Regions from separate parts of the Homo sapiens genome. Here all the other regions are linked to region 1. The links are contacts of gene promoters, found by promoter capture Hi-C in human tissues and cell types (Jung and others, 2019). All regions are on one chromosome and are shown on one strand. The core of a region is centred on a gene start or on the middle of the fragment in contact, and the rest is flanking DNA. Distances in the headings are between cores, read along the strand shown.

The links. Contacts are between HindIII fragments. The study calls those that stand out against the background at their distance.
Region 2: a contact is called between a fragment that was not itself captured here and the fragment with the promoter of NOP14 in region 1, in 1 of the 25 tissues and cell types used here (lymphoblastoid cells).
Region 3: a fragment that was not itself captured here is called in contact with the fragment with the promoter of NOP14 in region 1 in 1 of the 25 tissues and cell types used here (heart left ventricle).
Region 4: a fragment that was not itself captured here is called in contact with the fragment with the promoter of NOP14 in region 1 in 1 of the 25 tissues and cell types used here (hippocampus).
Region 5: a fragment that was not itself captured here is called in contact with the fragment with the promoter of NOP14 in region 1 in 2 of the 25 tissues and cell types used here (lymphoblastoid cells and spleen).

The regions. Positions count from the first base shown.
Region 1 is chr4:2,961,394-2,966,410 of GRCh38, reverse strand. It overlaps NOP14 (NOP14 nucleolar protein), which reads left to right and starts at 3,005. Exons shown (of 18, transcript NM_001291978.2): 1 at 3,005-3,286. The coding sequence starts at 3,092. GRK4 (G protein-coupled receptor kinase 4) reads right to left here and starts at 2,840. Exons shown (of 16, transcript NM_182982.3): 1 at 2,289-2,840. The coding sequence starts at 2,340. RefSeq lists silencers at 2,168-2,217, 2,388-2,817 and enhancers at 2,280-2,813, 2,814-3,347, 4,378-4,447. The HindIII fragment of the contact is 12,457 bases long and covers 1-5,017 here.
Region 2 is chr4:2,515,526-2,520,542 of GRCh38, reverse strand. RNF4 (ring finger protein 4) reads right to left here. Exons shown (of 8, transcript NM_002938.5): 8 at 4,686-5,017. Among named protein-coding and RNA genes, the nearest start is that of FAM193A, 19 kb to the left of the region's middle. The HindIII fragment of the contact is 8,421 bases long and covers 1-5,017 here.
Region 3 is chr4:2,535,561-2,540,577 of GRCh38, reverse strand. FAM193A (family with sequence similarity 193 member A) reads right to left here and starts at 3,931. Exons shown (of 21, transcript NM_001366318.2): 1 at 3,408-3,931. The coding sequence starts at 3,662. RefSeq lists silencers at 2,928-2,977, 2,722-3,016, 3,018-3,177, 3,228-3,517, 3,598-3,697 and 3 more. The HindIII fragment of the contact is 7,680 bases long and covers 1-5,017 here.
Region 4 is chr4:2,557,358-2,562,374 of GRCh38, reverse strand. The region is part of intron 1 of FAM193A (family with sequence similarity 193 member A); the gene reads right to left. Among named protein-coding and RNA genes, the nearest start is that of FAM193A, 23 kb to the right of the region's middle. RefSeq lists an enhancer at 1,825-2,363. The HindIII fragment of the contact is 4,035 bases long and covers 1,005-5,017 here.
Region 5 is chr4:2,657,024-2,662,040 of GRCh38, reverse strand. It overlaps FAM193A (family with sequence similarity 193 member A), which reads right to left. Exons shown (of 21, transcript NM_001366318.2): 8 at 4,161-4,238; 9 at 2,371-2,483; 10 at 1,987-2,229. Among named protein-coding and RNA genes, the nearest start is that of TNIP2, 97 kb to the left of the region's middle. RefSeq lists enhancers at 2,520-3,019, 3,020-3,521. The HindIII fragment of the contact is 4,879 bases long and covers 1-4,464 here.

The DNA.
Region 1 (5,017 bases), core at 1,756-4,255:
AGACGGAGTCTCGCTCTGTCACCCAGGCTGGAGTGCCGTGGCGCGATCTCGGCTCACTGCAAGCTCTGCCTCCAGGGTTCACGCCATTCTCCTGCCTCAGCCTCCCATGTAGCTGGGACTACAGGCGCCCGCCACCACGCCCGGCTAATTTTTGTATTTTTAGTAGAGACGGGGTTTCACCATGTTAGCCAGGATGGTCTCAATCTCCTGACCTTGTGATCCGCCCGCCTCGGCCTCCAAAAGTGCTGGGATTACAGCTGTGAGCCACCGTGCCCGGCCAAAACTTTCATTTTTCAAACTATCACTGTGGTCTTAGGTTTTGTGACAGAATCTGGTTTTATGTTATTTAGCATTTATAGAGCACTTGTATTTATCTCATTATCTAATCTCTGCAGCATTATAAGGAAGGCGGCTTGGTATAGTTCCTTTTTGTAAATTACATGCAGATAGGAAGGTAGTGTAAAAAGAAAACTGGCTTAGCTTCAATCTGACTTCCACTAAGGATGATTATTTTCCATGACCTATTTGGAGTTCACAGTCAGGGATAAGAGGCACAGTCAAATGCTCCACTGAAAATGGCTGCTGAGAACGCATACTGCTCTGGGACTCCCTGATTATCTTAAGGGAAAAAGATCCCATTCTCTTCCCACCCATTCTCAGTTCTTCTATTCAAAATAGTGTGAGTTGGTGCACAAAAATACTGAGAAGATGAAGTCTTTGTTTTAGACTTTTTTAAAGAGATGGTCTTGCTGTGTTTTGCCCAGGCTGGACTCTCCTGGGCCCAAGTGAGCCTTCCACCTCAGCTTCCAGAGTAGCTGGGACTACAAGCGTGGCCGCCACCTTCGGCTCCAGACTGTCCTTTAAATATGCATCGCCGGCTGCTGTGGCATCTTCAGTCGGCATTTACACTGTCCTGGAGCACAGTCCGAGCAGAGCTGCTCCATCACGCAAGGAAATAGAGGAAATCAGCAATTCCGTAAGAGTGACGGGGTGTGAAGAACTACCGTGGCTAGCACAGGGACTTGAGGTCCGAGGCTCTGTCGCCAGCTCTCTTGAGACGCAGGCAAGGGAGACATGAGGTCCGAGACAGAGGATTGCACAGAGGATTGTGGGGGTCTCCCGCTGAAGGGCTGGACCAACTGATGCTTTTGTGGCGGGATGCAGAGGACTAGAGAGACCAGCATGGGTGAAAACAGGAGGATATTTATGTTAAGGTACGCACCAGCTCAGTGGATTCACATCCAAAAAGCTGAGCCTTGAACAAAGACTAAGCAGGATTTTTATAAGCAAACTTACAGAAGCAAAACAAAGGCAGTTAATCATATAATGACAGGTCACATAATCTATAGCATAACTGATGACTTGGCATAACTTGTGGCCTTGCATAGCTGGTGGCCTTGTAGCTGCGTTGAAAGAAAAAACCAAGAACTGGCTAAACACAGATATTTGTCCTCTTTTTTTTTTTTCTTCACCCCTGCTCTGGAAGGGGGGTGTCTGGAGCCTATTCCTTTGGATTCGACTTCTCAAACAGAACAGCGTTATCTTATAACTGTCCTTAAAGTGAGCTTGCTAAGCAAAAGAAAACTTGTTCTTCTTTTCTTTTTAACCCTTGCCTTGCCACATTCTGGGCCTTGGCTTTTTCTTTTCTTGGAGTGAATGAATGCAGTACTTATTACTATTTTTAAATTTCTGCCTCACTTTAATAATGATAAAAGGCTGAATTTTTGCCAACTTGTCCATCTGTGACCACGTCGTGCTAAAGCACACTTGACACACCATAGAGCCTCAGATCAAACCTCAAAACCAAGCAGCTATGTTAAAAATAACATTGCCCTACAATCATTATCGGAAGGTTCTCGCCCAGAGTAGTTCCCAGGCTGCTATTCTTTGTCCCCCTTAAGACCATAAAGACGCCGTTCTTTTTTGGTGGGACAGGTTGTCCAACACAAGCAGGACACTGCCTGCCGCATCCTGAAGCAACACTGTCACCGAGGTCACACCGAGAGGACAGGACAAGGACACAGGGCAAGACTAAGAAGAGCAAAGCGCAGACTTCTCTCATCTGGGCCAGGAGATGGGGACTGGGACCTGGCCCGGGCAGCCTGACCACACTGCACAGACCCCGGCTCCGGCTCCGTGCAGATCTGGGTTCCCCCAGTGGGAGGTGTCGGGGCTCTCCAGGGAAATCGGGGTTCTCCGGGGATGTCGGGTTCCTTCAGGGGGGCCAGGGTTCCCCGGGATTCGGGGTTCTCTGGGGGGGGGGTCGGGGGCGCCTGCCGCGCACCCACCTTGACGCGCTTTCAGCAGCAGCGAGTTGGCCACGATGTTCTCGAGCTCCATGTCCTGGCGCCGCCGCCGCCGGCGGATTCTGCGAGACCGAGGAGACTGAGGAGGCGGAACAGGAGGAGACGCCGCCGCCCCCGTGCATAGCTCGCCGGGCACCACCCTCTCCTCGAGCTCCGGACACGATCCCGGGAGGCTGCTCCGCCGCCACCACTGCCACCAAGGGCGCCGCCGCCGCCGCCTCCGCAGGCCCTCACCAGCAGGGGAGCGGTCGGGGCGAGGGGAGGGGGCAGCCCGACCGCGGCGGGTCCCAGCTGTCACCGCTGCCGCGCTATCGCCCCGGTTCTTCTTGGCCCCATCGCCCTCGCCTCGCGCGCGCAACTCCCTCCTCAGTGCCCTGCCCCCGGGCAGCCCCGAGTCAATGCCGTGGCTCACTTCGGACAGGGGCTCACTGGCAGGGGCGCCCGCCGCGGCCGGCGACCCGCTCCCGGGCGGGCTCGGCGCTAACGGCTTAGCTGAAGAGGGAGCGCCCCTCGCCGCCGCGGCCGGGGCACTACAGCTCCCAGAAGGCCCTGCGCCAAGAGTACACGGCGGGCCGCGGCGCGTGGCCTGCTGGGAGTTGTAGTCGCTGAGCCTATCGGCGAGTAAGCCGAGCCTGCGGGCGCGGTGTTTACTTCTCGCGAGTCGGAGGTGCTGCGCTGTTCTCGCGAGACGAGGAAGCGGTTCCGCGGCCCGGCACGTGTCTTAGGGTAGCGCGCGCCTGTCTCTCTTCGGGTCTCGGGCCCTTGGGCGCAGCGGGGCGCGCGCCATGGCGAAGGCGAAGAAGGTCGGGGCGCGAAGGAAGGCCTCCGGGGCGCCGGCGGGAGCGCGAGGGGGCCCGGCGAAGGCCAACTCCAATCCGTTCGAGGTGAAAGTTAACAGGCAGAAGTTCCAGATCCTGGGCCGGAAGACGCGCCACGACGTGGGACTGCCCGGGGTGTCTCGCGCACGGGCCCTCAGGAAGGTAAGCGGGGGGCGCACGGGGAGCCGGAAGGCAGGATCTGGACCCCACGCTGCTCTCGGCCGGCTGCGTCCTTCTCGGTGCGTCGGTTTCCTCGTTGAGCGGCACAGGCCGTGACAGGCACACGGCACTGACTTGATAGTCCGAAAGCCTCTGCTGTTCTCTGAGCTGGAGTGACCTGGAAACTCTCGCCGTCTTGGAGACCCTGCACTCGTGTTATTTCGGCGACTCCTCCAACCGGGTCAGGCCGAGTCAGTCACTTCGGGCGGCGCCCTGGACCAAGCTGCTTGTTAACCCTTCCGCGTTTACTTTGAGCTCTGCAGGTTTGGGGACGGTGGATAGGGGCTGTGTAGGATGCTGCGTTTGATGTTTCATCGGCTCTCTCCCGAAGCGCGTAACCTTGTTCCTTGGGAAGTAACTCTATGGAAACTCATTGCTTCCTAGTTTTTTTAACTTTTTTTTTTTTAAATTTTCACTGAGGAACATACATTAGCAGGTTGGTGAAAAAATTAAGGCACAGAAAGGACAAGTGCATTTCCTAAGGTCACGCACCTGGTAAGGGCTGGGCATGCATTCACATTTCAATATCTACAAAGCCTTCTTGCTACCCCGAGCGCTTCTGTTTGACCTCGCTTCTAGGTTCGGGGAGATAAAGGTAAATAAGACTTGCCCTTGCCTTCATGAGCTCCTGATCTCTGTTCATCACAGTGTGCAAGCTGGATGGTCTTTGAATCAAAACACATATTATCCTTACTGCGCGAAGACGACAGCCTGTATAATGAATAGGCAAGATAGACTTACAGCTGACTTCGATAGGAGTCCCTCATTACACACCCCCGGGCCGGGGTGGGAGAATAAGGTAGTGTGGTTCCCTAGAAGAGACACATTTGTCTTCACCACTGAAGCCTCAGTTTTCTCATTTCAAAAGTAGAGATGATAGTATACATCCTACCCCTCGTGGTGGTTTGTGAGAATTAAGTAAGATAGCACATAGAGCACACAGCAAGTGTTCTCTAAATACTGTTATTCTTAACCTTCTTGGCTTGTCGTTCGAGTCCCGCACAGTCTGGCTGTTGTCCTTGCTTCGCCTCTTGCAACTCAGTTTGTCCAAAAGGTCTGCCTTACCTCCGAAAGTCTCTAAAGGGCCAGCTCAGGTTCACCACCCAAGCTATGTAACCCAAATAGGACAGGTTGCTCAAACTTCTGGTATTGAGCAGATCCACCTCCCTGCCCTGTGCTGAAGGCCTGGGACGGGGACGGGAATTGCTGCTCCTTTTTGGATCTCCAATGCTTGGCCCTTGGAAGAAACACAAATATTTGAAGAAATCAAAGATGGAACCTGAGTGCCTTAGGAGATCCCGGTCAGGAAAAAGTGTAATAGTTAGGAAAGTCCAAAAATTCTTCTAGAGGGAGTTACAGTCAAGTTTTGCAAGGGGAGTGAGCTGTTCATGGGCCCAGGGTGGGCAGAGGACACACATGCAAAGGCACATTGTCCCGGTATGGTGAAGTGTGGCACTCACAGCTGTCTGAGGGACAGCAGGTCGTCCAGTTGACTCCAAGCTTGATAACGCGTGTAGGGGCCGTGAGGCCGGCGCAGGAGGCCTGGGTCTTTTCATGTGGGTTAGTCCCTTAGAAGTAAACAGGCTGCCTCAGTTGGCTTCTCCCCTCTGGTCAGTTGTAGCACTCTGAGGCACTCAGTCTGGCAGGAAGAGGGCAGCCCCCAGGTGCCAGTCT
Region 2 (5,017 bases), core at 2,518-5,017, 450 kb after region 1:
GTGATCCACGTGCCTCGGCCTCCGAAAGTGCTGGGATTACAGGCGTGAGCCACTGCACCCGGCCCTTCTATTATTAAAAAAAAAAAAAAAAAGAAAAAAAAAAAAGGTTAGGCTTGGCACAGTGGCTCACACCTGTGTTTCAGCACTTTGGGGAGGCCAAGACAGGAGGATTGCTTTGAGACCAGCGTGGGCAACACAGTGAGACCTTGCCTCTGTAAAATATAAACAAAATTAGCTAGGCCTGGTGCCTATAGTCCCAGCTACTTGAGAGGCTGGGGTGGGAGGATCACTTGAGCCCGGGAGGTCAAAGCTGCAATGACAATGAACCATGATTGTGCCACCACACTCCAACACAGGTGACAAAGCAAGATGCTGTTCCAAAAAAAAAAAAAAAAAAAAAAAAAAGAAGTCAATTGCAAAACAGTCTCACAGGTTCTTCAGGAGGTATTCCAGAGGCACCGTCACCGCAGATGAGAGCTCCACGTGTTATCGGCCCTACAGACCTTCTGGTGGGACAAGAGGAAGAGGTGGAAAACAGTGATGATGATGACCCCGACCCTGTGTAGACTTAGGCTAATGTACACGGTTTTTGTTTTTAATTGTTATTTTTTAAAAATAATAGAGACATGGCTGGGCGCAGTGGCTCACGCCTGTAATCCCAGCACTTTGGGAGGCCGAGACAGGCGGCTCACGAGGTCGGAAGATCGAGACCATCCTGGCTAACATGGTGAAACCCCGTCTCTACTAAAAATACAAAAAATTAGCCAGGTGTGGTGGCGGGCGCCTGTAGTCCCAGCTATTTGGGAGGCTGAGGCAGGAGAATGGCGTGAACCTGGGAGGTGGAGCTTGCAGTAAGCCAAGATCGCCCACTGCACTCCAGCCTGGGCAACAGAGCGAGACTCCATCTCAAAAAAAAAAAAATAATAATAATAATAATAATAGAGACAGGGTCTCACTATGTGGCTCAGGCTGGTCTTGAACTCCTGAGCTCAAGCCATCCTCCCACATCTGCCTCTCAAAGTGTTGGGACTACAGGTGTGAGCCCCTGCACTCAGCCTCCATTTTTTCTCTTTTTTTGTTTAGATGGAGTCTCTGTTGCCCAGGCTGGAGTGCAATGGCATGATTTCGGCTCACTGCAACCTCTGCCTCCTAGATTCAAGCGATTCTCCTGCCTCAACCTCCTGAGTAGCTGGGATTACAGGCATGTGCCGCCACGCCTGGCTAATTTTGTATTTTTAGTAGAGATGGGGTTTCTCCATGTTGGTCAGGCTGGTCTCGAACTCCTGACCTCAGGTGATCTGCCTGCCTTGGCCTCCCAAAGTGCTGGGAATACAGGCATGAGCCACCACGCCCTGCCTTTTCTGTACCTTTTCTATGTTTAGATACACAAATACTTACCATCGTGTTACAACTGCCTTCAGTATTCAGTACAGTAACATGTACAGGTTTGTAGCCCAGAGCAGTAGGCTATATCACATAGCCTAGATGTGTAGTAGGCTCTGCAATCTAGGTTTAATTACACATTACACTGTACAATGTTCATACAACAGCAGAATTGCCTAACAATACATTTCTTTTTGTCTTTTTTTTTTTTTTTTTGAGATGGAGTCTCACTCTATCACTCAGGCTGGAGTGCAGTGGCGCAATATTGCCTCACTGCAACCTCTGCTGCCCAGGTTCAACAGATTCTCCTGCCTCAGCCTCCCAAGTAGCTGGGATTACAGGCGCCTGCCACCGTACCCAGCTACTTTTGTATTTTTAGTAGAGACGGGTTTCACCATCTTGGCCAGGCTGGTCTTGAACTCCTGACCTCGTGATCCACCCACCTCGGCCTCCCCAAGTGCTGGGATTACAGGCGTGAGCCACAGAGCCCAGCTTAACAACACATTTCTCAGAACATATCCCTGTAAGGTGGGGCGCAGTGGCTCACGCTTGTAATCCCAGCACTTTGGCAGGCTGAGGTGGGTGGATCACTTGCAGTCAGGAGTTCGAGACCAGCCTGGCCAACATGGTGAAACTCTGTCTCTACTAGAAACAGAAAAAATTAGCTGGGCATGGTGGTGCACACCTGTAATCCTAGCTATACTCTGGAGGCTGAGGCAGGAGAATCGCTTGTATGTGGGAGGTGAAGGCTGCAGTGAGCTGAGATCATGCCACTGCATTCCAGCCTGGGTGACAGAGTGAAAATCTGTCTCTGGAAAAAAAAAAAAAAAAAAAAAAAAAAAAAAAAAAAAAGAACATATCCCTGTAGTTAAACAACATATAACTATGTTACCCAATACATTAACTGATTAGAGAGGCAAACAAATCTTGTCTCAATAGAAGCAGAAAAAGGACTGGTAAGATTGAACATTCACTTGTGACCAAAAACAAAAATAGAGAAACCCTGTCTCTACTAAAAATACAAAAACTAGCCAGGCGTGCTGGTGCATGCCTAGCTACTCAGGAGGCTGAGGCAGGAGAATCGCTTGAACCCCGAGGTGGAGGTTGCAGTAAGCCGAGATTGTGCCACTGCACTCCAGCCTTGGCAACAGAGCAAGAATCTGTCTCGTTAAAAAAAAACAAAAACAAAAAACAGAAATTGAAGACAAATGCCACTAGGTGTCATGGCTCATGCCTGTAATCCCAGCACTTTTGAGGAGGCCGAGGCAGGCGGATCACCTGAGGTCAGGAGTTTGAGGGCAGCCTGGCCAACATGGTAAAATCCCGTTTCTACTAAAAATACAAAAATTAGCCGGGCATGGTGGTGCATGCCTGTAATCCCAGCTACTCGGGAGGCTGAGGCTGGAGAATTGCTTGAACCCAGGAGGCGGAGACTGCAGTGAGCAGAGATTGCACCACTGCACTCCAGCCTGGGCGATGAGTGAAACTCCGTCTCAAAAAAAAAAAAAAAAAGATAAATGCTTATCTCATGGTAGGAAAATGAACCTCCCTCATCTGACAGTTATCTAACTAGAACCTACAGCAAACATCTTTCTTGATGAAACACTAAAACACAAACACCATTTGTGTGTAATAATAATGTACTGGGCTAGGCTGGGCGCGGTGGCGCACACTTTTAATTCCAGCACCTTTGGGAGGCTGAGGTAGGAGTATCGCCTGAGGCGAGGAGTTAAAGACCAGGATGGGCAACGTGATGAGACCCCCGTCTCTACAAAAATAGAAAAAAAGAAAAAAGAAAAAAAAAATAGAGTTGGGGCTGGGAGTGGTGACTCACGCCTGTAATCCCAACACTTTGGGAGGCCGAGGCGGGCGGATCACTTGAGATCAGGAGTTTGAGACCAGCCTGGCCAACATGGTGAAAGCCCGTATCTACGAAAACTACAAAAATTAGCTGGACATGGTGGCACGTCCCTGTAATCCCAGCTGGTTGGGTGGCTGAGGCAGGAGAATCGCTTGAACCTGGGAGGCGGAGGTTGCAGTGAGCTGAGATCGAGCCACTGCACTCCAGCCTGGGCGACAGAGCCAGACTCCGTCTTAGGAAAAAAAAAAAAATAGCAAGGATTCTGGATACACAATATAGAGAATCAATTGTTTCTATGCTGCCAAAACAAAACAAAACCACCCCCCCACCGAAAAAGTTAATACAGACATCTTTTGAGTTTCTATAGCCAGCCTTGGGGGCTCCCTCCTTTCCAGGACCAGACCCACTCCAGCAGTACCAGTCTTAGGGATACACTGCTCCCTGCCTCCCCTAGGCTTGCTCCTGGGGTAAAGAACTGCCAGGCCCTGGGTAGCCACCAGAAGTGTCTGGTCCAATGCCTTTAGGTATCGGGGAGCCTGCAGACCCTACTGTATGCCAGCAAGAAGCTCTTTCTCATAACTTTCACAGGCCTGGCCTGGGGTCTCTGGAATTCTTTCCTCTTTCCCTAGAGAGCTTTCTGGACCTTGAAGATGGCAACTTAGCAGCCCTTATTCAGAGAGAGCTTTCTGGACAGCTTCAACTTCTTCCTGCTGGATCTCCTGGTTTCCCGTACCCCACCCTCATCAGTTTCAATTTTCCAGTGGCCTGGGGGACTGTCTCCTCTGTAAACATGTTCCATGATGTCTGTCTCACTGCCCACAGAGCCAAAAGTGCAGTGCCAGGAGCATGGTAAGCAAACTGCACTGGATGGTAGGCCTTTGGGACCCAGGCAGCCAGCATGTTAGCCTTTCTAGTCCCTGGGGACAGCTGGATAGGTACAGAGGGCAGAGGCAAAGGGAGAGCTTGGCCACACTGCCAAGCCCATTCCCTCCTTGTGGCTTTGCTGGCACTGCTCGCCTGTGGCAGTGGCTGGCATATCCATGCACTCCCAGTGCTGACTCCCACTCAGAGGGCAAATTTTGTATCTAGGTGGTCAGGGGCAAAGGGGGGTGCTGCAGTGCAAGGTTTCCAGGGCAATCTCAGTCCATCCCACTCAGAGCAGCACCCCCAGCACCTCTGAGAGACTGGCCGAGCTGAGCAGACAGCTCCTTGGTCAACCTTGCCTCTCAGAGTAGACTCTGCTCTCTTAGGGACTCCAGGGCTTGGGCTTGTGGCTGTGCTCCAAGAACAGCCTCTCACATGCTTGCTGGATTTAGGACATGGAAACTTCCTGAACACACACCAATGCAAAATACACTCAACGTGAGGCAGATAAGAACCCCGCACCTTGGCAAAAAGGGGGGAAATTGATTCCAAAGAGCAAATGAATGTGTAAAAGATATTTGGTTCAAATTAATGGTTTTATTTCCATCTGTAACACTAGCAGAGGAGTCCAAAGCAGACTGATATCCATGGATATAGTTTAAATGTAACAAAGAAAGAGTTGAACTATGTACATTGAAAAAAGGAAAGACATTTCTTCATACCAACCTTTCCCTAGTTCGCAGTTTCTGAATAGTAGAAACAAAACACATTTTTAAATCTTTCTATCAATTTAATTTAGGACGAAGTAACACAACTTTTATAATTAACCACTGAAGTTGTCTTTAAGGACAAAACTTAAATTTTAAAATGGGTGTTACCATATTTTATGAGTGGACTGACTCCAAGGTT
Region 3 (5,017 bases), core at 1,040-3,539, 430 kb after region 1:
CTCCTGGGTTCATGCCATTCTCCTGCCTCAGCCTCCGGAGTAGCTGGGACTACAGGGCGCCCGCCACCACGCCTGGCTAATTTTTTGGGGTTTGTTTGTTTGTTTGTTTTGAGACGGAGTCTCGCTCTGTCGCCCAGGCTGGAGTGCAGTGGCGCCATCTCGGCTCACTGCAAGCTCCGCCTCCCAGGTTCACACTATTCTCCTGCCTCAGCCTCCGGAGTAGCTGGGACTACAGGTGCCCGCCACCACGCCCGGCTAATTTTTTGTATTTTTACTAGAGACGGGTTTCACTGTGTTAGCCAGGATGGTCTCGATCTCCTGACCTCGTGATCCGCCTGCCTCGGCCTCCCACAGTGCTGGGATTACAGGCGTGAGCCACTGCGCCCGGCCATTTTTTGTATTTTTAGCAGAGATGAGGTCTCACCGTGTCAACAAGGATGGGATTTTTTTTTTTTTTTTGAGACAGAGTTTCACTCTTGTTGCCCAGGCAGTAGTGCAATGGTTAGATCTCAGCTCACTGCAACCTACATCTCCCAGGTTCAAGCAATTCTCCTGCCTCAGTCTCCCGAGTAGCTGGGATTACAAGTGCATACCACCACACCTGGCTAATTTTTGTATTTTTAGTAGAGACGGGGTTTCACCATCTCTGGGGTTTCATCATCTGTCAACCAGGCTGGTTTCGAACTCCTGACCTCAGGTGATCCACCCACCTCGGCCTCCCGAAGTGCTGGAATTACAGGCATGAGCCACGGTGCCCGGCCCTAAAATGTTTTGTGAAATTTTTGTGTTTATGTGTATGTTTCCTAGATCTTAACGGATTTTATTTCTTGGAGTGGGTCATAAGAGTGGGTCATGGTCAAAAACCTTGATAGGCCAGGTGCAGTGGCTCAGGCCTGTAATCCCAGCACTTTGGGAGGCAGAGATGGGAGGATCACTTGAGGTCAAGAGTTCAAGACAAGCCTGGGTAACATAGTGAGACCCTGTATCTATATTAAAAGAACAAATTAGCCAGGCATGGTGGCACATACCTAGAGGCCTAGCTACATGGAAGGACTGCTTAGCCCAGAAATTGGAGGTTACAGTGAGCTATGACCAGGCAACTGTACTCTAGCCTATGCAACAGAGAGAGACCGTGTCTCTTTTAAAACAACAAAACCCTGATGCATACTAGTTTAACAGAATATCACAGTCCTGTCAAAAATAATACTCAGGTGGGCACAGTGGCAAGGGTCTGTGCCCTTAGTAATTAGTAAAACTAAGATGAGAGGGATCCCTTGAGCCCACAAGCTCAAGGCCAGCCTAGGCAACATAGCAAGACCCTATCTTAATAATAATAGGCATACAGTTATCTGATTTTGAATAACGCGACAAAAATAATAAAGGCAGGGCTGGGCACGGTGGCTCACGCCTGTAATTCCAGGACTTTGAGAGGCCAAAGCAGGTGGATCAGGAGGTCAGGACTTCAAGACCAGCCTGCCCAACATAGTGAATCCCTGTCTCTACTAAAAATACAAAAAAAATTAGCCAGGCATGGTGGCAGGTACCTGTAGTCCCAGCTACTTGAGAGGGTTAGGCAGGAGAATCGCTTGAACCCGGGAGACAGAGGTTACGGTGCGCCAAGATCGCACCACTGCACTCCAGCCTGGGCGACAGAGTGAGACTCTGTCTCAAAAAAAAATAAATAAAAATAATAAAGTTATATTTTACCTAAGTATTGCAAAGCAAATGTAAATTATTAAAACTTGAAATGGTATGAAAGGCTAAAACTAAGAATTTTATTGTGCCACCAACTGGTTTTTATTGAATCAATAGAAATGAATATATTCCACATCCAGCTACACCAAAAATTATCAATATTTTGTGTAAGGATATGCACAGGCAAACCCCCCCCGCCCTCCCCTACCCGACAGCAGCAAACACTGCCCTTAAAAACCCCAAAGATCCAAACGCTCAAGACTCATCCTTGATCCCAAGAACTGCGGCCTGTTTTGATCTCCAGGATACTGGATGAGGGCAATCTCGGGAGACTGAAGTCCAGGACTACAGCCCAAGACCCTAATGTAACAATATAATAATAATAAAAACGGCCGGGCGCGGTGGCTCACACCTGTAATCCCAGCACTTTGGGACGCCAAGGTGGGCGGATCACCTGAGATCACGAGTTCGAGACCAGCCTGGCCAACATGGTGAAACCCTGTCTCTACAAAAATTAGCCGGGCATGGTGGCGCATGCCTGTAGTCCCAGCTACTCGAGAGGCTGAGGCAGGAGAATCGCTTGAACCCGGGAGGCGGAGGTTACAGTGAGCCAAGATCGCGCCATTATTGCACTCCAGCCTGGGCGACAGAGCGAGACTCCGTTCTCAAAAGAAAAAAAAAAAAAGAACAATTTGTGTCATGATTTAGCACAAAAATACTCCCAACGCTTCTTTCATTTTTTAATTGCAATATCTTTAAAACTACATAATTTAAGAGTTTAAATAACATTATAAGAACGCAACTTTTCAAAAAAAATCTATTCTCTTTCAGCAGACAATGGGATAACTGGAAATGACTGCGCCAATTGCATACCCACTTATAAATAGTGTACCCTCTGAAATGTTGTGACCAACGGTTGAATAAAAGTGGCAGGAATCCATAATTGGTAGGTGCAATGTGTGCTAGCTGTCTTCATAAACAAAACTGAAAAAAATCACCTTTCAAATTCCTTAAGTTCGAACCCTAAATACATACCTGAGTAACCAAACCACTAAATACCCCTGAAAACTTAACAAAGCGGGGGAGGAGGGGCCAGGGCTGCCAGCTCCAGGTGGCTGTCAGGTAGATTTCAAATAACCACATAGGAGGACCAAAGGAAAACTTCCGGGAGGCCCTTCTCAATCATCACGCGCACGGAATAACGAAGGTGGCCAGAGAAACATTTCAAAGCCCTGGGAGCGAAAGGGCAGCTTTGCTCACTCCCGGAATCGCAGTCGCTCTGGAACCGCCGCAGCGGGCGAGGCGCCACGACAGAAGCCCGGGCCTCGCGGGTATCACCCGCCGGGTCCAGCGGAAGGCGAAGCGCCGTGCGCGGAGCTGCACCCCGGAGACGTCCCCGCCCGTTGAGGGGCTGCTCCAGCCTGCGGACCAGCCCGTCGCCGTGAGCGGCGGCCCCGGTGTAGCCCTCCCGCCGCCTCTGCTCAGGTTCTCCTCTCAAGAGGCTGACAGAGGCCGCGTCACGCCGAGCACGGCCCACCTGCCGCCCTGCCCCGGGACCTCGGCAAGCGCAGCGCCGCAGGACCCGTTATCCGCCCGCCCGCAGCATCCCGCTCCCAGGCCCGGGGCCGACAGCGGGAGGCCGAGCTCCGCCAAGGCGCGAGGGAACGGCAACCGCGTACCGCCATCGACCCCTGCCCGCTGCCGCCGCTTACCTCGAAGTAGCCTCCGGGGGCGGCGCCGCCCGCGCTCGCGCCCGCGCCGAGAGGCCCGTTGGCCGCCGCCGCGCCGCCCACCAGGCCTGCCGCGCTGCCCGGGGCCGCCAGGCCCGCGGCCTGGGAACCGCGCAGCGCCGCCGCCGGGCCGGCCTTGCCGCTGCTCGCGCCGCCGTTACCCCCGCCCGAGCCGCCGCCGCCGCCCCGCTTGTTCTTCCGGCGCTTGGCCCCGCGCTTGGCGTCGGCTGGGCTCATGGCGGGCGGGGAGAGGGGCGCAGAGCGGGCGCGGGGGCCGCGGGCGGCGGCGGAGGGCGGGGAAGGCGGGGAGGCTGAGGCGGCCGCGGCGGCGGGCGCTCCGGCCAGCCGGGGGGCGCTGCGCGGGGTCGCGTCCGGGTCGGGGAGGGCTGGGGCGGGCGGGAGCTGCGGGGCAGGCCGCTGGGCGGGAGGAACCGCGAGTCCACAGTCCCGGCGCCGCGGCTGACCAGAGTTAGAGTCCAATATGGCGGACACAAGGGGAAAGGGATCCCAGTTTACGTCGGGGGAGGGGGAAGGAGCAGCGGGGAGGGGGAGGGGTGTGGGCCCCCACCCCCCACCCCCACCCCGCCTTACTCCGCCCCCCGGCTCTGCTTTTCCCTTTGCTTGCCCACCCCCTCCTGCCGTTAACGTGCCTCGGCGCGCAGGACACGCCGGGAACTGAAGTCCGTGCTGCCCGTGCAGCAGCTGGGGGTACCCGGGGGTGGACCACGATTCCCGTCAGGCCTTGCGAGGCCGAGGGCCCGGGCGCTGGGAGGAGCTGGGGCCAGGGAGCTGGATGCGGCGGTGATGTCACCGCCTCGCTCGTCGCCGCAGGTCCCGCCCGCGCCGCGCGGCCTTCTGGGCGTTGTGGTCGGGCGTAGGGCTAGGCCGGCAGGAGGCCGCGCCGCCGCCCGCGAGGCAAACTACACGGCTGGCGGCAGGGAGTTCCGCCTCTCTGACCGGTGTCCGCTGCCCGCCCGCCCCGCCCGCCTCGCCCGCGCCCCTGTCCGCCGCCCAGGTGCCGCAGACCGGCGCGGCTCCCGGGATGCACCAGGGGCGGCGCGGCGCGGCCCTGGCCTCGCCAGGAACGCCCGGTGACCTTGGGCTAGTCTAGTTCTGGTCCAGATGACTCAGTGAGGACCACAGAATCCCTGCCTCGTGGGCTGGGCGGGGGTTCGGGCAGCGCTGGAAAGCCGGGCGCGGTGCGGTGGGGTCCGCCTGGGTGCGGAGGCAGCGGCGGAGCCGGCGAATCTTGGACCGGGCCTGGGGCTGGGACACGCCGGTCGGTTCCCCGAGAACCCCTCGCCTAAAGGGTGCTCTTCCCGAGCCCGCCCTCTCCCTGCTATCCCGTTAAGCCCTCTCCAGTGGTCCCGGTGCCTTGCTAATCCACGGGGCCCTAGGACGATCCGGCCGTGTCCCACACCCTCGCACTCACGCACCTCGGGGACGACTAGCCGGGTCAGACCCTCGCAGACGTCCAGATCAGAAATAAGGGCTTGCGTCTGGACCCTCCTCCCTCCGCGGCCTTGCAGACATCTGCGAGCCCCAGGCAGAGCTCTGCCCTGAGACCCGGGCCACGGGGGGACCCTGCCGGC
Region 4 (5,017 bases), core at 1,773-4,272, 400 kb after region 1:
GCTCAAGCGATCCTTCTGCCTCAGTCTCCTGGGTAGCTAGGACTACAGGCACGCACCACCGCAGCCAGCTGATTTTTTCTATATTTTTTGTAGAGACGAGGGTCTCCCTATGTTGCCCAGGCTTGTCTCAAGCTCCTGGGCTCAAGCAATCCTCCTGCCTCAACCTCCCAAAGTGCTGCGATTATAGGGATGAACCACTACACCTGGCCTAGTCACTGAAATCTTTTGACCGAAAGAGTGACAATTACAATTATCATAAAGTTATAAAAGGCCTTCGAGATTATCTAACACAATCTTCTTACCTGACAGATGTGGAAACTGTGTCCAGTGCACAACCACATACAGATGACCTGAGATCTTTAGACAAAACTCCTTTTGATAAGTTACTTAGCAAACAAACCAATAATACCTAAGCACTATTTTGTAATATGGGAAGAAGAGTTTGATCTAAACATACACAAGTTGAGTTCACAAGCCACAGCTATGGGGGGAAAAGGCCTCAAACAACATTCTAATAAATATCCACAATGTTAGAGGGTTACTGATAACCCATTTGAGTTTCTGTCATCAGAAATCTCAGCCGGGTACGGTGGCTCACGCCTGTAATCCCAGCACTTTGGGAGGCCGAGGCAGGCAGATCACTTGAGATCAGGAGTTCGAGACCAGCCTGGCCAACACGGTGAAACCCCGTCTGTACTAAACATACAAAAATTAGCCAGGTATGGTGACAAGCAGCTGTAATCCCAGCTACTCGGCAGGCTGAGGCAGGAGAATCACCTGAACCTGGGAGACAGTGGTTGCAGTGAGCCGAGATTGCGCCACTGCACTCCAGCCTGGGCGACAAAGTGAGACTCGGTCTCAAAAAAAAAAAAAAAAAGAAATCTCTACAAGCAGCCAGGCATGGTGGCTCATGCCTGTAATCCCAGCACTTTGGGAGATCAAGGCGGGCCCATCACTTAAGGGCAGGAGTTTGAGAGCAGCCTGGCCAACATGGTGAAACTCTGTCTCTACCAAAAAATATAAAAATTAGCCGGGCATGGTTGTACGCACCTGTACTCCCAGCTACTCAGGAGGCTGACATGGGAGAACTGCCTGGAACCCGGAAGGCAGAGGCTGCAGTGAACTGAGACTGCGCCACTGCACTCCAGCCTGGGCAACAGAGCGAGATCCTGTTCAAAAAAGAAAAAAGAAATCTCTACCAGCATATATGCCTAACATATTAAGTGTGAACTTGAGAGGAAGAACTCAACATAGAATAACCTACAGCAAGGTGTTGTAAGGACATAAAAGTTCACCAAAGCCTGGAGAGTAAGCAAAGCAAGAGTCAGGAGGAGAACTACAATGGCATGGTGCCATGCACAGGAAGGCAAAGAAAGTTCTAGAAAGGTGGATATCACAGTCATGTGCCAAAAGCTCAAAGGGAGCCAGGTGCAGCAGCTCATGCCTGTAATCCCAGTACTTTGGGAGGCTGAGGCAGGTGAGGTGAATCACTTGAGCCCAGGAGTTCGAGACCAGCCTGAGAAACATGGTGAGCTCCTGCCTCCACAAAAACTAAAAATAAAAACACTGAGGAAGAGGAAGGGAAGAAAGACACAATCTGAATACAAAGGAAAATAACCCAACAGAAGTGGAAAGATTCAAGACACAGGAGAGAAACGACAAAGCTGTTTTGCAGAAGCCTCAAGATAACGTACTACACATAAATTCTGCACTGAGTTTCCATGAATTAACAGACTCATTAAAAACCATCAGTTAACAACCCCTGGAGCACGCAGTTAACTTTGGAAAAATGGATAGATGCTTTCTTCCAAATCAAAAGACAAAAGACGTCCCAAAGAAAGGTGAAGAGGGAAGAAATGCAGAAGCTCACATCAAATGGCCTGGCTCCCTGAGCAATGTTTCTGCCTATGTACTATGTGCCAAGCAGGCCACAGCGCAGTTTAGATGTTCCAATCCAGTCTAAGTGGTGTGGCCGAGCCAGGACAGGCACCACAGGAACTCAGAAGGGAAGGTACAGCCTGGCCTCGGACGGTGAAGAAATGCTTCCCATGGGGACAGCGCATGGTCTCCATCTCAGAAAGGGGCGAATCAGGCAAAGACAGAAGAACTCACTGGAAAGAAAAGCCTGCACAGGCCAGGCGCGGTGGCTCACACCTGTAATCCCAACACTTTGGGAGGCCGAGGCGGGTGGATCACCTGAGGTCGGGAGTTTGAGACCAGCCTGGCCAGCATGGCGAAACCCCATCTCTACTAAACATACAAAAGATTAGCTGGGTGTGGTGGCAGGCACCTGTAATCCCAGCTACTCGGCAGGCTTGAACCAGGGAGACAGAGCTTGCAGTGAGCCAAGATCGCACCACTGCACTCCAGCCTGGGCAACAAGAGTGAAACTCCATCTCAAAAAAAAAAGGAAAAAAGAAAAGAAAAGAAAAGCGTGCACAAAGGCGCAGAGGCAAGAAAAACCCGGCCCGATCAGGCCACGCAGGCCGCACTACACAAGCAGGTCAGGATCACCGCAGCACCCAACAGGCACCGCAACAGCAGTGGAACAGCAAGGCAAAAGGAAGCGAACGGCAAGGACGCTCAGCTGTCCGTGCAGCCGGAGTCTGGCAGGAACAAGAGAGGGGCCGTCAAAGAAAGCTCAAGACGTCCTGGTGCTCACGTACAAAGGCAGGTGGAAGACATCCAGAGGGAGGAGGAAGCAGCAGAGTGTGTTCACAGAGAAGAGAAAATGCAGTAGACTACGGCGAGAGTAAGGAAGACCAGACTAGCAGGACAGGGCTGGGCAAAGTGGCTCACGCCTGTAATCCCAGCACTTTGGGAGACCAAGGTGGGAGGATTGCTTGAGCCCAGGAAGTCAAGTTGACAATGAGCTATAATTGTGCCACTACACTCCAGACTGGGTGACAGAGCAAGACCCTGTCTCTGAAATAAATAAAAATTTAAAAAGAATAGCAAGGTGGTTTCTTTATCTCAGTTGGTACTGAGAAGTGACAAAAGCCACAGAAATTGAAAGGTATGTGAGGGGACACCGACTACAACAATTAGAGGAATTTTTCAAACTCAAGTCTTCGGGCCTCAGTTTCCTCAGCTAACAAATACTGTCTTGGCAATAAACAGGGGCTCTGTCGTTGTCCCCTCCAGTTCTGAAGTTCTATGCATCTATGATTTGACCATCTTAGCATTCCCAGTGGAATACAGGTGTGGACATCTGTAAATGTACAAACACACAAAGAACAGTTCAATTCAGTTTGTGCAGCGGTATTTAATTGAAATCATTGATCCAAACCCTCCCATTATTCTTTTAAAGGAAGGAAAAATATTAACAATAGCTATAGCCGTCTTCCTATGCTGTTCTTGTTTCTGTTTTTGTTTGAGATGGAGTCTCACTGTGTCACCCAGGCTGGAGTGCAGTGGCACGATCACAGTTCATGCAACTTCCACCCTCTGGGTTCAAGCAATTCTCCTGCCTTAGCCTCCTGAGTAGCTGGAATTACAGGTACATGCCACCATGAACAGCTAACTTTTGTATTTTTAGTAGAGACGGGGTTTCACCATGTTGGCCAGGCTGGTCTCGAACCTCTGCCCTCAAGTGATCTGTCCACCTCGGCCTCACGAAGTGCTGGGATTACAGGCGTGAGCCACTGCACCCAGCCTGATTTTGTGTGCTTTTAAAGACAGAAACAGCTAGGTACAGTGGCTCCCGCCTGTGATCCCAGTCATCCCAAATACCCAGGAGGCTAAGGCAGGAGGATTGCTTGAGGCCAACAGTTTGAGACCAGTCTAGGCAACATACAAGATCTCATCCCCCCCAGAAAAATTTTGATTAGCTGGGTGTGGTGGCCCGTGCCTGTAGTCCCAGGTACTTGAAAGCCTGACGTGGGAGGATCTCTTGAGCCTAGGAGTTGGAGGCTGCAGTGAGCTATGACGGCGGAATTGCACTCCAGCCTGGGCAATAGGGACTGTACTCTAACTAGTAACTCGTAGACAATGTTTGCCTTGGTGGGCTACTTTCACCTAAGTGAAATAATTACCAAGTATTTTTAGGAAAAGTAATTAGATTGTAGTACACTATTTTTTTCTTTCCTTTTTTTTTTTTTTCATTTGAGATGCAGTCTCGCTCTGTCAAACACGATGAAATACAGTAGCACGATCTAGGCTCACTGCAACCTCCTCCCCGGTTCAAGCGATTCTCCTGCTTCAGCCTTCCCAGTAGCTAAGATTACAGGCATGCGCCACCACACTCAGCTAACTTTCATATTTTAGTAGAGACGGGGTTTCACCGTGTTGGCCAGACTGGTCTTGAACTCCTGGCCTCAACTGATCCACCCACCTCGGCCTCCCAAAGTGCTGGGATTACAGGCATGAGCCATAGCGCCCAGCCTTGTAGTACACTATTAAATGGTTAACTTTTTTTTTTTTTGAGACGGAGTCTCACTCTGTCACCCAGGCTGGAGTGCAGTGGCACGTTCTTGGCTCACTGCAACTTCTGCCTCCTGGGTTCAAGCGATTCTTCTGCCTCAGCCTCCCGAGTAGCTGGGACTACAGGCGTGCACCACCACACCTGGCTAATTTTTTGTATTTTTAGTAGAGACAGTGTTTCACCATGTTAGCCAGGATGGTCTTGATCTCCTGACCTCATGATCCGTCCATCCCAGCCTCCCAAAGTGCTGAGATTACAGGCGTGAGCCACCGTGCCCAGCCAAAAGTTAACCATTTTACTGAATTTTAGCATGAGCATGAAATTACTACCATACTATAAATCTGAATATTAATTAGCTTCTCAGGAATCCTTTGAAGAAAATAAAAAGCTTCACCATTTCATAGGTGAGAAAACTAAAAAGAATGAAAATTCTGGGCTGCTAAATGCACTGTGGTGTACTGGATTAGATCCTGGAACAGAAACAGGACATTTTAAAAATCCAAATAATCTGTAGTTAATAATGTTGTACCAATGCTAATTTCTTAGTTTTGACAAATATACCAAGGTTCGCTAGAATATCCATATTAGGGAGAG
Region 5 (5,017 bases), core at 776-3,275, 300 kb after region 1:
CGGCTGATTTTTTGTATTTTTAGTAGAGATGGGGTTTCACTGTGTTAGCCAGGATAGTCTCAATCCCCTGACCTCGTGATCCGCCCGCCTCGGCCTCCCAAAGTGCTGGGATTACAGGCATCAGCCACTGCACCCGGCCTGAAATTAATTTTAAACAGATTTCAAGGCTTTAGCCTACAGAGACCACTTAAGATGCAGCTCTGGTGCATTAAAAGAGCTGGCACATTTAAGCTCAGTGCAATAAGATGCTCCAAGGTCCACAAAAACATGCACTGAGTCCATCTTCAGCCTGGGCACACAGCAACCTCCAGAAGGCAAAACCCTAGGAACTCGTCGTGATCTCACTTCCTAGAATGAGTGAAGAGTGTCCAGGACTACCAAATTCCGGTGTCTTTTCAACACATTACAAGTAACGTGCTAGAGTCTGGAGCTCACCAGAGGTAAGTACAAACAGCACCCACAAGGTGCAGAGTCCTAGGGCTTCCTGCAGGCCCACTGCACCTGGGACGCTGCCTGGGCCAATGCTCATACACACTCCTGAGGATGACCATAGGCACAATTTACAGATGAGAAAACTGAGGTTCTAGTGAAGTAACTCAGCCATTTGCTCCATGTGACAGCAGGAGGCTTCACCAGCCCTAGCTCCGTAAAGATCCAACCCATAAGATCCAGGAAGTACTGTGTGGTACACTGACTACAATCACATTGTTCTTTTTAACCAACTTAGAAAAGGCACCAAGAAAGAGACAATACAAATGAAAAGATAACACTGGAGATTTTCAAATCATAGTTTACATTTGGAAGACATTGATCACAAGCTGCTGAAGGCCCAGATGTCCCGAGAACCTAGGCTCCCCGTAACTGGTGATGGGCAGTTCCGGCCCAAGGAGAAAGGCTCCCACAGCCAATTTCTTCCACTACCACACGTGACACAAGAGACCATAACTGACATCAGCAGCTGTGACAAATGAACAGGGATGAAATTTTCCATCTTAAATTTTCATTAGGCTATATATGTTTAATTTTTATGTTTCAGTAAGAAGTTGGATAACAGCCAGCTGCAAAAATGTCAACACTCTTTCTTGTGCCCTGGAGAGTACACAGTGTCTCTAAGGCAATAAACAGCAGCCTGCAATCTTTGTATGAAGAGAGTCAGTGAGTTTAAACCAGTCCTTTCAGAATTATTTTGTCTGAGAACAAGCCCAAATTGAAAATGGAAAGACTGAAGGAAAACGTCAGTCACCATGAGAAATCCAGACAGAAGGAATGAACACAAGTCAGTTGGTCAGAGAAATCCCAGAAACGCTGCATAGCCAAGGTCAGGAACAACAATCTCTCCCACTGCACACTTCCACATGGAACATGATGCCTGTGTGCTCTACGATACACGTAAACTAAACCTAAGCTGACTTTGGCAACTACATATGATCAAGTGCAACCCTTTTGGAAATTAGCATGTGAAGCCTCCCCAAATGACAGGGTCACAACTCTGAAGAAATCTGGGAACAGCCAACTACAATGTGAATTGGTGACAGCTGCACAACAATGTACTTCTAATCATGCGGGAACATGAAAAACAGAAACCTTCAACTGCTTGCTAAAGCGATCACCTGAGTTCTTAGCAAGACATGAAACAAGCATGAGTGCTGGGCTGACAGGGAGACAGGACAGACGGCGGACTGGTCACCCTTTAGGAGAATGAGGAGATGTGAGGCCGGAATTAGAGACACTTCTTCTCTGCATACCAACATGTTTTTTCTTTACTGGCCTTTATTAATTTACCATGTTTTTTTTTTCCCAGATAAACAGTGTTAAAAGTTTGGGTTTACTGATTTCATGTTTTAAAAGCTGCATTAAAAACCTCAGGGTCCCTTGTCATGAAAAGCACAATAATGATGTTCATACTTCTGTGGACATTACTGTATGTATTTCTCATTACTGGGGCGACTTAAATTTCGGAAACTTTATTACAAAGTCACAACTTACAAAGTTGGTGCCGAGCCACTGTCTGTGAGGATGAGCCTGGGGTGCTGCTGAATTGTGATGGGAGAGCTGGAGCCGGACCCCGAGCTTGCAGATGACACACTGGGCGGGCTCCTCTCAGCAAGATAGTCAGGAGCAGGATCCACTTGAAGTGGGAGCTGGTGAATGTGGATGTCATCAGTGACGGGGGGGTCCATGATACCACACGTGAGGATGTGTGAGAGACTGCAGTCATCGCAAGCACATCTGATCAGGAATTAAGGACAGTTACCAAGCCAACCAATGCACAAGACTAGACCATGCTCTCTAAGGGTCGGTTCTAGGCCTCCACTCAGCCCAGTGAAGGTCCAATGGGCCAGTCGTGCTGACACCACAACCCAGCCTTACCTTCTCCTGTAGTTGCAGTTGGGGCAGTCGGGCATGCTCAGCCGGGACGATAACATGTGCCTCATGGTGTCTGTGAAGTTGTTCTCGCCAGTAACTGCTTTCTTATTGGTTAACTAGAGGAAATTTTAAAATGCTTTAATCTTGCAAGACCCTTCCCCGAGACATGGCTCATTATTTTTCAGTAATTCTGCTGACATGTATCATGTTCACGGGCACTGCTTCCTCAGCGGGACAGGACCAGGAATACAGGGGCAGCAGACCTGGAGTCGGCAGCAAGCTGGGGGCTGAGCTGCAAAGGGCTCGGGTACCAGGAGACCCTAATCGCTTTTGTCTTCAGCAAACATGCTGCAGTGCGCCCTCACAGCACACACCTGATGCAGAAACCCGGCCTTTACCCTGTCTGCCATGTGCTTGGTACTTGCAAGGTACTGAGAACAGAGCTGTAGGAATGAAAAGTGGCACGTGGAGGGCAAGGGGTCGGCCTCGGAGCTATTGAGGAAATGGCACCTCAACTTCTAACAGACAAGGTGAGCATCTGCATTTCAAAGGAGAAGGAACTCTGGACCCACTCTGGCAATGGGACAGGTGGCAGCTGGAAGGGCCACTCAAAAGGACGGGATGGCCGGGAAAGGTGGCTCACGCCTGTAATCCCAGCACCTTGGGAGGCAGAGGCAGGCGGATCACCTGAGGTCAGGAGTTTGAGACCAGCCTGGCCAACATGGTGAAACCCCATCTCTACTAAAAATACAAAAATTAGCCAGGCGTGGTGGCTGGCACCTGTAATCCCAGCTACTCAGGAGGCTGAGACACGAGTACCGCTTGAACCCGGGAGGCAGAGGTTGCAGTGAGCCGAGTTCACGCCACTGCACTTCAGCCTGGACGACAGAGTGAGACTTTGTCTCAAAACAACAACAACAACAAAAGCACAGGGACACATGCAGAATGGGGAAAGGGAAGAGGTAAGCATGCCACAACACTGGTGCCATCTGTATACCTGTGGTGCCCAGAGGAGACCACGGGCATGCAAATGTGGAGACAGGCATGGGGTCAAGGCCAGGGAACCACCAATATTTGCAGAAAGACCAATGAAGTTGGAGTTCGTAAAGGAGATGGAGAGAAGTGTCAGAGAACAGGAAGAGAGTCGATGTGGCACGTGGATGGGAGATCAGGGGAAGCCAAGTTTCCAGATGAAGCCAAGGGCCCCCAGACCAGATACAGGACATCACTAGCAAGCTCTGCCCAACAGCTCCAGCAAAGGTGGAGCACAAGCCTGCCTGGAGGAGGCACCGCCAGGAAGATGAGGAAGGGAGAGTCCAGATCTGCCAGCTGCCATGTTGAAGGCATGGCACCTGGCAATGTCTGGAGATCTGAGCGCTCTGTCTGGGGATGCTGGGCCCCCATTCCAGCTCTGGGACATCAGGCAACATCCTTAACCTCACCCTAACACCCTCCTTCATATGTAAACTGCAGATGGCACCATCTGCCTCATAGGGGACTGTGGGGACTCAGGTAATATCCTTTGCAAAATACCCAGAGCTGCTGTGGGATAGAGAGGCCACTCAATACACATGGGTTTTTCTTGAGGCGTATATGGAAGATAAGGAAATAGGTGAAAATTAGTTTATCTTGAGATTAAAAACACCATCTTGAACAGTTTTTAACGCTGGCAAAACATGCCAATGTGGTCCTCCAATGCTGTTCTAACAAAGCACATCAACATGCAGAGAAGTCATTTGCTGTCAGGACAGATTTCTACTTCCTTTAATTGCCTCTCTTATTGACAAGCTTACCTGTTCTTCAATGAATCTTCTTTGTTTAAAAAGCTCCCAGTCTTCTGTTAACATGCGCTGCTTGGTTTTCATTGTCATCTAGTAAGGGGATGTAAAAAACAGAAAAAAAAGAAAAACTTTAATACCTGCGACAATTATACAAGACATTTTCAAGAGGAGACTTTCTTAAAATGATATATATGAGAGAAACATCATCTGCAAACAGAATAAAGATACAATACTACAAATATGTTAACAGGTATTTCTTTATTTTACTCAAACTCATCACAAGTACTTTTCTCACATGAAAGACAGAGATGAATAAACAGTAAAAAGAGAAATCAAGATATTCTGACTAAATCTGTCAATACAGTGGATGAACATTCACTATTTACTGAATGCCCATTATGTGCCCTGAATGTGTTAGAAATAAGCAAGATGATGGCAACTCGGTCCTGCCACACGAAGAGCTCAGACTACAGGAAAGGAAGAGCTATTAACAGGCATATGAGACTTAAAAAGCAAAGCAAAACAAAACTAACAAAGAAGTTAGGAGTTAAAGGCAAAAAGAGAAATTACTGAGGAAACAGAGAAGCATATGTGATTAATAAAACCGAAAGTCGGTTCTGTAAGCTTCTGTCAAGGCTGAAAAAGGGGGAAAAAGGTAACATTAAAAAAAAATCAGGATTGAGAAAGGATATGGGTACATATGAAGATTGTTTTGTTTTGTTTTTGAGACTGAGTCTCGCTATATCACCCAAGCTGGAGTGCAGTGGCACAATCTCGGCTCAATGCAACCTCTGCCTCCTGGGTTCAAGCGATTCTTGTGCTTCAGCCTCCTGAGTTAGCTGGGATTATAGGTGCCCGCCACCACGCCC